Linked DNA regions of Homo sapiens: region 1 is linked to region 2. Evidence: promoter capture Hi-C in 16 types of primary human blood cells and fetal thymus (Javierre and others, 2016). All regions are on one chromosome and are shown on one strand. The core of a region is centred on a gene start or on the middle of the fragment in contact, and the rest is flanking DNA. Distances in the headings are between cores, read along the strand shown.

Region 1 (5,580 bases), core at 2,609-5,108, 2.6 Mb after region 2:
TGAAATTGTGGTGTCACCTGGGCTAAGTTTTTAGCTGGAGGCTCTGGGGGTGAAAATCTGCTTCCAATCCCATTCTTGGTGTCAGCAGAATTCAGTTACTTGTGGTTGTAGGACTGAGGTCCCTGATTCCTTGCAGGCTGTTAGTGAGAGGCCACTTTCAGCCACTAAAGATGACCCACATTCCTTATCACAAAGCTCCCTCCATCTCCAAGACAGTCAGGGTATGTCAAGTTCTTCCCTACCATATATAAAATTTGAGCAGCTGGGGAGATTTAAAAGAGGCTTCCCATAAACTCAGAAGTAAAAAGAGACAAGGGTCCCAGTAAATACAAAACGACTGGGGTTGGGGAGGCGGATTTTCTGTCCTCAGTGACGTTTTGTTGGTTGATTGGTTTCAGACCTTGGACTGCCTCTGTCTCTGACCACTAGACTCAGATTTAAAGAACTCATGTGATGAGGTCAGGTCTACCCAGATAACCTCCCTATCTTATGCTCAACGGATTTGGAAAGTTGGTTATATCTGCAAAATCTCTTTTGCTATATAACATAACATAATGACAAGAGTAATAGCTCATCATATTCACAAGTGCCAACCACAGTGAAGGCAAGGAGATTACACAAGAGTAAGGGTCATGGTGGAATTCAGCCTCCTGCGGAAGCCTGGGCTTGACCGGCTCATTGGCCCTTCTACCCCATACTAAAAACTAAAGCAGATCAGCCCAAATTTAAATGGTGGGAAAACAGATTCTACCTTTTGATGGAAGGAGCTACAAGGGCACATTACAAGGAGGGTAGACACAAGGAAGGGGTATAGATCGACACCAGATTTTGCAATCTACTACAGACAGGATATATGAGACTTAAAAAATCCAGGCAGCTCAATGCCTTATGATAGCTCTTGCTGCAACAAGGTGGCCTGCAGAGAGAGCCCACTTCTAGTTATTAGGATGAGAATATGGAAGGACAAGCAAGAAATGTCAGGCCCACACTGTCCGTGAAGTAGGATAACCCACCTCTATTTCCTAGCTGCTCCACCTCACAAAGCCTAGCTATCTTTGCCTCCTGCTCCTTCATTAGTGCAATGGAACAGCAAATCAGGATACTTTCACAGTTCTCTTAAGTGAGCCTAGAAGTGGGGAGCTGCTTGTTCACAAACTTGAAGCCTGAATATGTTAATATTCTTTCAGTGGCCGGACGCGGTGGCTCATGCCTGTAATCCCAACACTTTGGGAGGCCGAGGTAGGCAGATCAACCTGAAGTCAGGAGTTCGAGGCCAGCCTGGCCAACATGGTGAAACCCCACCTGTTGGTCTGTACTAAAAATAGAAAAATTAGCTGGGCATGGTGGCGCATGCCTGTAATCCCAGCTACTCAGGAGGCTGTGGCAGAAGAATCGCCTGCACCTGGGAGGCAGAGGTTGCTTTGAGTTGATATCGTGTCACTGCACTCCAGCCTGGGCAACAGAGTGAGATCCTTTCAGAAACCTGCTGTCTGTATTTGGATACAATTAAAAAAAAAAAAAAGATGAGACAGGCAGGTGCGAAAGAAATAAAAGTCACAACTGATCCAGTTGGGAAACTCAGAATTGACAGTTACGTGTCCTTTCATTTATTGATATTTTGAGATTCACAGGGGTTTAAACTTTATTCTTCCAAGACTGAATAGTTCCCACCTCCCTTCCATATATAAAATTTGAGTAGCTGGGGAGATTTAAAAGAGGCTCCCCATAAACTCAGAAGTTAAAAGAGACAAGGGTCCCAGTAAATACAAAATGATTGGGGTTGAGGAGGCAGATTTTCTGTCCTCAGTGAAGTTTGTTGGTTGGTTGGTTGGTTGGTTGGTTAATTGGTTGGTTTTTGAGTCAGGGTCTCACTTTGTCACCCAAGCTGGAGTGCAGTGGTACAATCTCAGCTCACTGAAGCCTCTGCTTCCAGAGTTTAAGCGATTCTTGGGCCTCGGCCCCCCAAGTAGCTGGGACTACAAGTGTGAACCACCCCACCGAGGTAAGTTTTGTATTTTTAGTAGAGATGGGGTTTCACCATATTGGCCAGAGTGGTCTTGAACTCCTGGCCTCAAGTGATCTGCCCACCTCAGCCTCCCAAAGTTCTGGGATTACAGTCATGAGCCACCACGCCCAATCCCTCAGTGGAGTTTTATCCACTTATTATAAAATGTTTTTGAGGCTTTAGAGGCAGAGCCAGAGAAAACGAGAATTCAAAAATCTGCCTTTTTTTCTTTAGAAGTGTTGAAATCATGGCCTACTTGTGTTTTAATGGGTTTTCAGAGCTTAATTAGTCCATAGACTGTTAAAAAAAAAAAGAAGAAGAAAAGATGAGCTGCTCTATGATTCCCCAGCTGCCTTAGAAATGTGCACCAAGCTTACGATGAAAATTTGTAAGGAACATATATTTATTTTAAGGATTCTCAAGAGCTCTGGAGAACTGTGCCTTTCTCTACATACATCACTTCACTGCTCTCATATCTCAGTTAAGTGAGCTAAATTCACCAAGCCCTGCTTAACTTCACAAGCCAGGTCTGCCAGAACTCTGGGAGGTGTCCATTGCTGATTGGCAGCTAGCCAGTAATATACACAAAGAATGCAAGGATGAGAGGATGACCTACGAAGTAAAGAATCATGTTCAGGGAGAAACACAGGAAGGGGCAGGTTGGGAGCAAACACTGAAAAGCCAATTGCACTGTGTTTTCATTTGTTTGGAGAGGGCATTATGGGAGGGCTGGAGGATTGTTTCTTAGCTTCTTCCAACAACAGTTAGATAATTGCTGCAAGTGGAGAGCTCAGAATAGCAACAATTTGCCGACACATGAGGGCCCCTCTTTACATGTTCATCTTTTTGGTCACCTTCCACTTATGTATGTGTTATTGAAGTAGCAATGGACACTTTGAACTTTCTTTCTCAGAAAGCTATTAGCTTAGCTGGTGTTCTGTATTATTTCCACATTTAAGCAATAAAGCAGTGTTTCTTTGTAAAAATCTGACTTTTTTCAGTTAAGTTTGTTGCCAGATCTCCCAAAAAGACAGCTGAAGTCTATTACATATGTTGATCGCTATTATTGGGAGAAGGTGTTGGCAACCTTTTGAGTGGGCTGTGATGTTGCCAATGTGTTTTTCCAACAAGGTAAGGATGAGACAAGATAAAGGGCAAGGAAGGGGGAAAGGGTGCTGATGTGGACACAGAGAACGTCTCCCTCTTGCTGTCCTCCCTCTGCTTTCCATCAAGGTCAAGTGTCTCTTGTAAACACCGGCAGGGACAGTTCAATCTGCCCATCTCTGACACTTGGGTCTCCCTTTCTGTGACCCGGGAAACAGTCCCACGGAGAAGCCAGGACCCTGGGCCTTCTCCCTGGGGGCTCTTTATGCAGGTCACTGCCCCACTCCCTGAACTCCGAAACAACAGAGCTTACGTCCTAGGAAAACCTCCCAGAGATGGCTCTAGTCCCCAACATTTTTGCAATTGCAACATTTCTTATCCTATAATAATACAAAAACTTCCACATTTAAATGCATTCATTCAACAGAGGCCAACTTCAGCACATGCACTTCTGGGGCACTTGTGTTTACAATGGGGACAAAACAAGACAGTTGGTGTCCGTGGGCAGCTTAATCCTAGTCATTTTAATGCATTTTGCTTTCAATTAGCTTTCTCTGAATAATTCTATGACCACATTGAAATTGTGAGTGACATCCTGAAATATACCTACACTGGATCGTAAACCACAGTGAAAAAAATATATAAATATCGCCCTTTCCAGAAGCTCATGTGTACTTAAAATGAAACCAAAAAAACCTAAATTAGGTATTCACAGATACCCTTTTGAGAAATTCGCGAGAGCAGCAAAAGTACATTGACATGCGTATTTCTGACCCCATTTGATGACCTGAAACATTTCCTCCCTCTTCATTTTCTATTGCTGAACCACAGTATTTTCCTGTTTGGCACAGATCAAGAACACAGGTCTTTCTCTTTTTTCGTTTTTCCCACTGAGGCTATGAAATTGGCCATTCAGTTATTATAGTAAGGATTAGTAAGGACATTTCAAACACAACTAATTAAAGAAGTGTTTTCTGAAATTAAGATATTTTTGTTTAATTACATTAGAAGGAACTAAATATAATATGGTATAGATAAAAATAGACAGAATTACTCAGAACTGAGGGAAAAAATAAGTAGTGAGAAAATGTTAATAAGATCTGAATGCCATCTTCGTGGCATTTTTCCCTAAACTTCATCAGTTGGGAGAAAACTAAATCTTCAATATTAAAAACAAGTCTTATGAGCAAAAATTACTGTCCGGTCACCCTCCAGAGCAGGGTGCTGTCTAAACAGAACTTTCTGTGATGATGGAAATGTTCTCTATCTGTACTGTCCCTATAGCCATTAGCCCTAGGTGCCTATTCAAATTTAAATTAACTAAAATTCAATAAAATTAACAATTCTGTTTTTCAGCGACAGTAGCCACATTTTAAGTGCTCAAAAGCAACACATGGCCAGTGTCTACCATATTGGACAGCACAGTTCTAGAAGCCAGGAAAGAAGGTTAAATACACAGTGAAAATACACACCCAAGGTTTTCCAAACATAAGTAGAAATGGGAAATTTTTCCCGAAAGACCTCTATGGAGCATGAGAAGAAAGGTCTACTTTGTATCATCTGGAGGATTTTTTCCTCTTTCCATCAAGTTTCAGCCAATAATTAAAACAAGTTAGCAATATTTTTCATCCCAACACCTTGTGTAAATTCTTGTCTTCCCCCAAAGAGTTCCCTTGATATGCGTTTTACACACCGTCTATAGAAAAAGCACTTTCCAAACACCCAGTGTATGTTTTTCATGTAAATTCACTTTTCTGATCCTTTTAGTATATTTATAATGGAAATTCTCTCTACTTAAAGCCTATCTATATCTTAGCAACCACAGTTTCCAAAGCTATTCCATGAAGCAGGTTTCTCTATTTACTTTTGTCTATTTGTGTAGCCCAGACCACGCAATAAGATTTTCAAACTGGCCAAAACACATGAACATAGACAAAGTCCTTTATTGTGTGGGTAACCCTTTGGAATGTCTTATTCCCTATGAGAGCTGACATAAAGCAGGAATTCAAATGACAGTGGGTCAAAACCTGAGGGCCAACTGCAGATTTCAGCCTACTTTACAGTCCGTTGGCTATCATAGCTTCCATATGGGCAATAGTGATTGTTTATGAATTAATCCATGCAAAATATATCAAATCTAGTTGGAGAGGATTTTTGTGGGAGAGAAAAGGTACCCTTCCTTCACCAGCCTCGGCTTCATGCTAAAGTATTTCACAACTACAGTGTTTTCATAAGCTTAGAATTCAAATGAGGCCAAAAACTATCAAAAGCAACCTGCTATCTTTACCTGACCCAGAAGTTTACAAGATTGAATTCCTAGAAATTATTGGCTTTATTCTTCTGGAGTCTGCTCAAGTCTAGATAGGCAAGAAAGAACCTAACAGATCAATGCCTCTTAAGGGAATTGATCCCTTCTGCCCAACTTCCTGGGCAGAGTGGCCTTGAGTGAACCATATTCAGAATTAGCTCCT
Region 2 (6,361 bases), core at 966-3,465:
CTCTTTTTATACAGAAAGAAATATTGCTCAACAAAGTTACATATTTAAGTTTTGACAAAAGCTTCAAAAATACGGTTATCATATGCTTTTAATTCCTTAAATGTATGGTTTTTAATCTGTAGTAAGACCATTCGGGAAAACTGGAATAATTCTACAAATAAATGTAAGTAAGTCATGAGAGAAATCAGAATTCTCTTAGTTAAGTGCATTTTTTTAAAACATGGAAAACGAAATTCTTTAACTCTTAAAACAACCTGTCTTAACTAGCCCTAAGGTGATTCCTGAGCCACTTGTGGGTAAAAATCAGAAGAGAAAAAAGTTCAATGACCTTGCAAATTAGAAACTAAAAAACTAATGGTGTGATAGTCTGTACAGCCTCAGTGGAATTACAGGAAAACATCTGCCCGGAAATTGCTTTTTTTCTTTTGGAAAATTACTAGGAGGCTGGGGGAAAAGAGGGGAAAAACGGGTAAGGAAGGTTGCAAATGTTAAGATGCCAAACAGGAACCCAACCGAAGTCCGAAGTGAAATACAGCCTCCTCTGGCCCAACTGTCATGCAAACAACTTCTAAGCATCTTCAGATGTAAAGAAAAACAGTCATTGTGCACAGGCGTTAGCTGAATGTTCGAGAGTTGGATGAATGGGGAAGACTTGTTATACACCTAGTGGTGGGTGGATTTCACTAGGCTGCAGCCTCCACACAGCTTTTCTTTGCTGCACTGCAGAGGCGCCATCTTCTCCGTCTTAATCTTCACTCAATTCGATCCTTTTATCTGCACCCTAAAAAAAAGACCCTTCGGACCCTCCCCAGCATCCTGTGCCCCCAGGGGAACTAAACCAGAGTCCCCAGAGCTGCCAGGGAAGAGGCCGCGCCTTAATCAGACAAACGCCTCCTTGGATGCACAGGACAGAGCCCGTGCCTCCCCACCATCCGCCACTGCCCTTTCCAGACGCACATCCCACTCTCCGCCTTATTTCCTCCCCGCCAAGGACTTTACAGCCCAGCACAGAATTAAGCCTCGGAGGTGATCCGAGGGTGGGAAGCAGAGGGGCCCCGAGGCTCCGCCAGAAGCCCCGGCAGCGTCTCTGCCCCCTCCCAGGCGGACGCGCAGCCCCGGGAAGGGAGCCGGGCGGGAGCCTCGGTGGCGCACTGAGACTAACGCGGCTCGGCCCACGGCGAGGGCGGGGTGTCGCGGCTTTTGTTCCCGCGGACCTTCTGCCTCTCAGACAGAGCTTAGGGTGCGAGCGAACTCCCGGGACGTCCAGACTTGGGGAAGGCGCGGGGTGGCTATGGGTCTCCGACCCCTCCCATTTCTCGCAAGTTACACAAAAGGGAGACGCGGACATGCACAAAGTTTGCCTGTGGAAGGCGGTGCGCGACCCCGACGCCGGCTCGGGCTAGGGTCGCACCCAGGCTGCCGCCGCCAGCAGCCGCGAAAAGAGGTTGGAGCAAGGAAGGGGGATGGGGGTGAGAGAGGAAGGTGAAACGAGGCGGAGAACGCAGGGAAAAGCGAGGGGCTCCTAGCTTCCTGGGCTGTCCCGACTCCTCCTCCTCCTCCCCAGGGCCCAAGAGAAAGGAAAGGGCAACGATTCAAGAGCGAAGGACTGGCTTTAGGGACGCTGCGTTTTCGGTTTTCCCCACGTGCTCCTTCCCCCTTCCCCCCTGTCTGAATGTCTCTCGCCTCCCCCGACCCCCGCTTCCAAGGCAGGGACTAAGTCGGGGTCTGGGCTCAGGGTCGCCCCCTACCCTTCTCGCCCCGGGCTGGCGCGGAACCAGGGAGACCAGCGCCTCGCCCGCTCCCTCTCAGCGGGCCGGAGCGCGACTCCCTGGGGCAGGGCTGGGCCGAAAGCGGGGATGCGCTGGACGTCCGCAAGCGGGGGCGGAGAGGAGAGGGGTCCCATTGACGGACCCCCGGCTTCTCTGCATTAAAGACTTGGGTTAAGGTCTTGGGGGGTATCGCGTCCCCACCGTGCAGCCTCCCCCCGCCTTCCGAGGCGCGGCACCCACCTCCAGCGCCCGAGCCGTCCAGGCGGCCAGCAGGAGCAGTGCCAAACCGGGCAGCATCGCGACCCTGCGCGGGGCACCGAGTGCGCTGCTGTGCGAGTGGGATCCGCCGCGTCCTTGCTCTGCCCGCGCCGCCACCGCCGCCGTCTCCCGGGGCCCCCGCGCACGCTCCTCCGCGTGCTCTCGCCTACCGCTGCCGAGGAAACTGACGGAGCCCGAGCGCGGCGGCGGGGCTCAGAGCCAGGCGAGTCAGCTGATCCGGCCCACCCCGCTCGGCACCCGAGAGAGACCCCTAGCGGCGCCGCCGGGGAACTGCGCCCGCTCGCGCCGGGAGGGGCCCTCGCGCCCCGCGCCCACAGGTGCACGCGCCCTTGGCGCCGCCTGCACCCCACGCGCCCCCTCCGCTCCCCGGCCGACGGCCCACCTGGGCTTCGTGAACAGTGGGAGGGAGAGTCTGGGGCCAGGAGAGGGACGGTGCAGGATCAGGGAAAGGTGAGTCCTAGGACGCTGAGGCTCTAGAAAAGTCGAGAGCGCTCCTGCTCGTCCCCGTGAGCTTGAATCATCCGACCCCGCAGGCCTCCCGGGGGTGTCGTATAAAGGACTGCTGCTAGGGTGCGTTTTTATCCGCATTTCGTTTTTTCTCTCGGTTTGGAGAGGTGGGGCAGGCGTTTCTGGAAGAGAATGAGAACGAGTGAAGCTTAAAGGAAATAGGATTTTCTTTGCTTGTTGAGACAGCAAAACCTCATTTTTTAACCCCCAACGTCAAAAGCAGGCACGAGCAACCTGGAATTTCTATCTTTAGAACGAACCAAAGGAGCAAGGCGCAGGACCTGGCAAAGAAGCGGCCAACCCATTTACTTCTTCTTGAAAGCAGGGTTCTGGGCTTGGGTTTTGTTTCTTTCTTATATTTTTGTTTGTTTTTGGTTTTGTTTTGTTAAAGGGGGTGGTCAGTGTGGATTTTGCGGGGCGGGGGGTCTTTTTTTGTTGTTAAGCAGGGATGTAACATCCATCTGAGTTGGGGAAGAAGGAAAAATTAGGAGAGATCATTCGTATTCGACCCCCGTAAATGAGGACTTCTGACCTCAAACGCTGCCCTTGTTCTTCATTGTGTCTGTCCTGAATTATAGAAATGAACCTTCTGCCATGCCACTTTCTCCTGGATTAAACACAAACCGTCCACTGTCCAGTTAGTGTCCAGATAGTTTAGAATGCTCTAGAACTGCCCAGATATATCCCCTGCTCTTGACCTGAAGTAGCATTTAGTTACCAAGCCACAGCCCACTCCACACAGGGCTTGGAGCGAAGGACTGAAGCCAGGGAGTGCTCTGGCCCTTCTGAGGGCTGCACTGCAGCCTGCCTTCTCTCCCTTGCTCATTGCGCTGACAAGGGTGCCTAGGCCCGGGAAGGATGGCTCAGCCAGCGGGGTACAGACTTCCTTCCTGGGAAGTCATTTCTGTACCAGCTCCCCTAAATGTTGTCTTGTGTGTCTTTTCCCGCACTAGGCATTCAGTCTTGACTCTTGGATTACTTTTGCCCCTGAATGTCCTTTGGATGTCCTCAACAAATAAGGACAAATATTTATTGTCATGCAGTATTTGTTTATACGCTTCATGTCATTTACTTCCTACAAAAGCCAAAGAGGCTGTTACTATTATTCCTATTTATACATCAGGAAAATGAAGCTAATGAACTCCCAAATCTAATAGCAAGTAAGTGACATGAAGCTGGGACAGCAGGGAAAAGCCTAAAGTGACAGGACAAACCCAGTTGTTCACTTTCTGCACCACATTTACCCACCGCAATTCCGTATTTGTTCCGGGTCTGCATGAGCAAATAAGGCAAAAAAGAAGGTATCTGAATGCAAAGAGAAACGTGGTCCAAAGCTACAAATCTTGCAGAGTCCACTGCAAAATGCAAACGTGAGACCCTTTGTTACATTATTAAGAATTTTAAGGCCGGGCCTGGTGGCTCATGCCTGTAATCCCAGCACTTTAGGAGGCCCAGGTGGGCAGATCACCTGAGGTCAGGAGTTCTAGACCAGCCTGGCCAACATGGTGAAACCCCCATCTCTACTAAAAATGCAAAAATTAGCCGAGCGTGGTTACTCCTGCCTGTAATCCCAGCTACTCCAGAGGCTGAGGCAGGAGAATCGCTTGAACCTGGGAGGCGGAGGTTGCAGTGAGCCAAGATTGTGCCATTGCACTCCAGCCTGGGCGACAGAGCGAGACTCCACCTCAAAAAAAAGAAAAAAAATTAAATTAAGAATTTTAAGATGGCAATGGCAGAGCGTTAAACCAAGCATGGGGCTCCTCCCACCGCAGGGCCTGTGAGACTCTCCAGGGTTGCATGCCCATGAAGCCAGCCCTGGGAAGGAGGAGGCAACTTTAAGAGTGAGGGACTTTTCTTTGGGAGGCTGAGGCGGGCGGATCACGAGGTCAGGAGATCAACACCATCCTGGCTAACACGGTGAAACCCCGTCTCTACTAAAAATACAAAAAATTAGCCGGGCGTCGTGGCGGGCGCCTGTAGTCCCAGCTACTGGGGAGGCTGAGGCAGGAGAATGGCGTGAACCCGGGAGGCTGAGCTTGAAGTGAGCCGAGATCGCGCCACTGCACTCCAGCCTGGGCGACAGAGCGAGACTCCGTCTCAAAAAAAAAAAAAGAGAGTAAGGAACTTTTATTGAGCATGAAATTCAAAATTGTAGAGATGAGATCATAATCTATAAAAATTAAAGTTCTTAGATTTAGCAGTTTCTCTTTCCACTGTTGAAATTCACCACACTGACACATTCCCTGGTCAAGATGTTCCTGGGGGAAGATGATTATGCTGCTGATTGCGTCAGAATGATGGACATTGCCTGCATGTTCTCTGGTTCCTTCACTACTCAGAGATCCTGATGGCTTTTTGCTTTTCAGCCACTAGCTCTGTTCTGCATTTAATGCCATTTCCTGCCCTGAGGTGTCTTGCAGATCCTCCAAGCAGAAAACGCAGGAACATCCCTAGTTATAACCCTACAAAGTTGGGGAAGGAACCAACAACCACTTGTCTGCTGGAATTCCTACAACAGCATCCCCATCCTAGTTTCAAGTGTCTCCATTTGTGAGATATTCACTGGCTCTCCAGACTGTGCATTCTATCTTTGGGCATTTCTGGTTACTAGAATGTTCTTATCCCATTTAAAGCTCACATCCCCCGCCTTTAAACTCCCACTCAGATATCCTTGTATCCCCAGTGACCAAGCAGAATAATTCTTTTCCACACTTCAGATCTTTACAAATTTGCCAGCGGTTTTCATGCTACTTCTTCCTCTAGAGTCTTCTCTTCACAAGGTAAAACAGGCACTTCCTTCAACAGTTGCATAATGGCATGGTTTCTGGTTCCTTCCACACCTTGGCCATTCTCTAAATGTGTTCTGGCTTGTCTGTGTCTTTTTACAGTACTCGAAGTGTGCTCTGACTGCTGCAACATGGGAGATGTTGCCCACTACTCTGCCTGGAGCCTCATGTTGCATTTGACTGTTTTAGTAACCGCATCCCACTGCAGACTCCAATTGGTCCAGATACCCCATTTCTATTTTATGCATAGTCTGCTGGGCCGCGTTTCTGTCGTCTTGTGTTTAGGCTGTTATCTGTGCCCTATAAATATCACCAAAAGCAATCGTTAAGTCTGAGCCAGATGAACCCTGCAGGGGTGCCATAACTTACCATAGACTGGATGGATCAAACACCAGAAATGTATTTCCTCACATTTCAGGAGGCTGGAAGTCTGAAATCGAGGTGTTGGCTGAGTTGGTTACTTCTGAGGCCTCTCTCCTTGGCTTGCAGATGGCCACCTTCTCCCTGTATTCTCACATGGTCTTCCCTCTGTGTCTTACTGTGCCCTAATCTCCTCTTGTTATAAGGACAGCAGATATTGGGTTAGGATCCATGCTAATGACCTCATTTAACCTTAATTACATCTTTGACCCTATCTCCAAATATGGTCACATTTTGAGACACTGTCGGGTTAGGACTTCAACATATGAATTTGGGGGTGGGGGTACATAATATGTCCTTCTTTAGAACAGCTAAGACTTATTCTATAATCCTGTCACTCATCTTTGGCCTTTATTTCCAGTGACCTTTCTTTCATTTTCAGTCTGAAGATCATTCAACTCAACAGAAAAAAAAAAAATAGAAATGGAAGAGATCTACTTTCTGTCTGTCCTGCATCAGCATTGCATCATGATCCCCATGCAGCTGGCTTACCCCTCCCGCAATCATCAGGCTCTGAAAAGAAAGAAAATGACCTTTTATACTTTCCTTTAGAAAATTTTGTCAAAGCTTAAACATTGACATTTAATGACATTTAAAATC

What was found. The method cuts DNA at HindIII sites, captures the fragments that hold promoters and counts their contacts. A CHiCAGO score of 5 or more calls a contact.
Region 1: a contact is called between a fragment that was not itself captured here and the fragment with the promoter of APP in region 2, in 1 of 17 cell types (non-activated CD4 T cells). The highest score is 6.7, in non-activated CD4 T cells.

What each region holds. Positions count from the first base shown.
Region 1 is chr21:28,735,286-28,740,865 of GRCh38, forward strand. It overlaps a transcript of HEMK2 not described here. Among named protein-coding and RNA genes, the nearest start is that of HEMK2, 150 kb to the right of the region's middle. The HindIII fragment of the contact is 2,967 bases long and covers 2,376-5,342 here.
Region 2 is chr21:26,168,555-26,174,915 of GRCh38, forward strand. APP (amyloid beta precursor protein) reads right to left here and starts at 2,216. Exons shown (of 18, transcript NM_000484.4): 1 at 2,010-2,216. The coding sequence starts at 2,066. It overlaps APP-DT (APP divergent transcript), which reads left to right and starts at 2,313. Exons shown (of 4, transcript NR_186396.1): 1 at 2,313-2,498. RefSeq lists enhancers at 719-928, 1,427-1,951 and silencers at 969-1,238, 1,739-2,568. The HindIII fragment of the contact is 2,642 bases long and covers 60-2,701 here.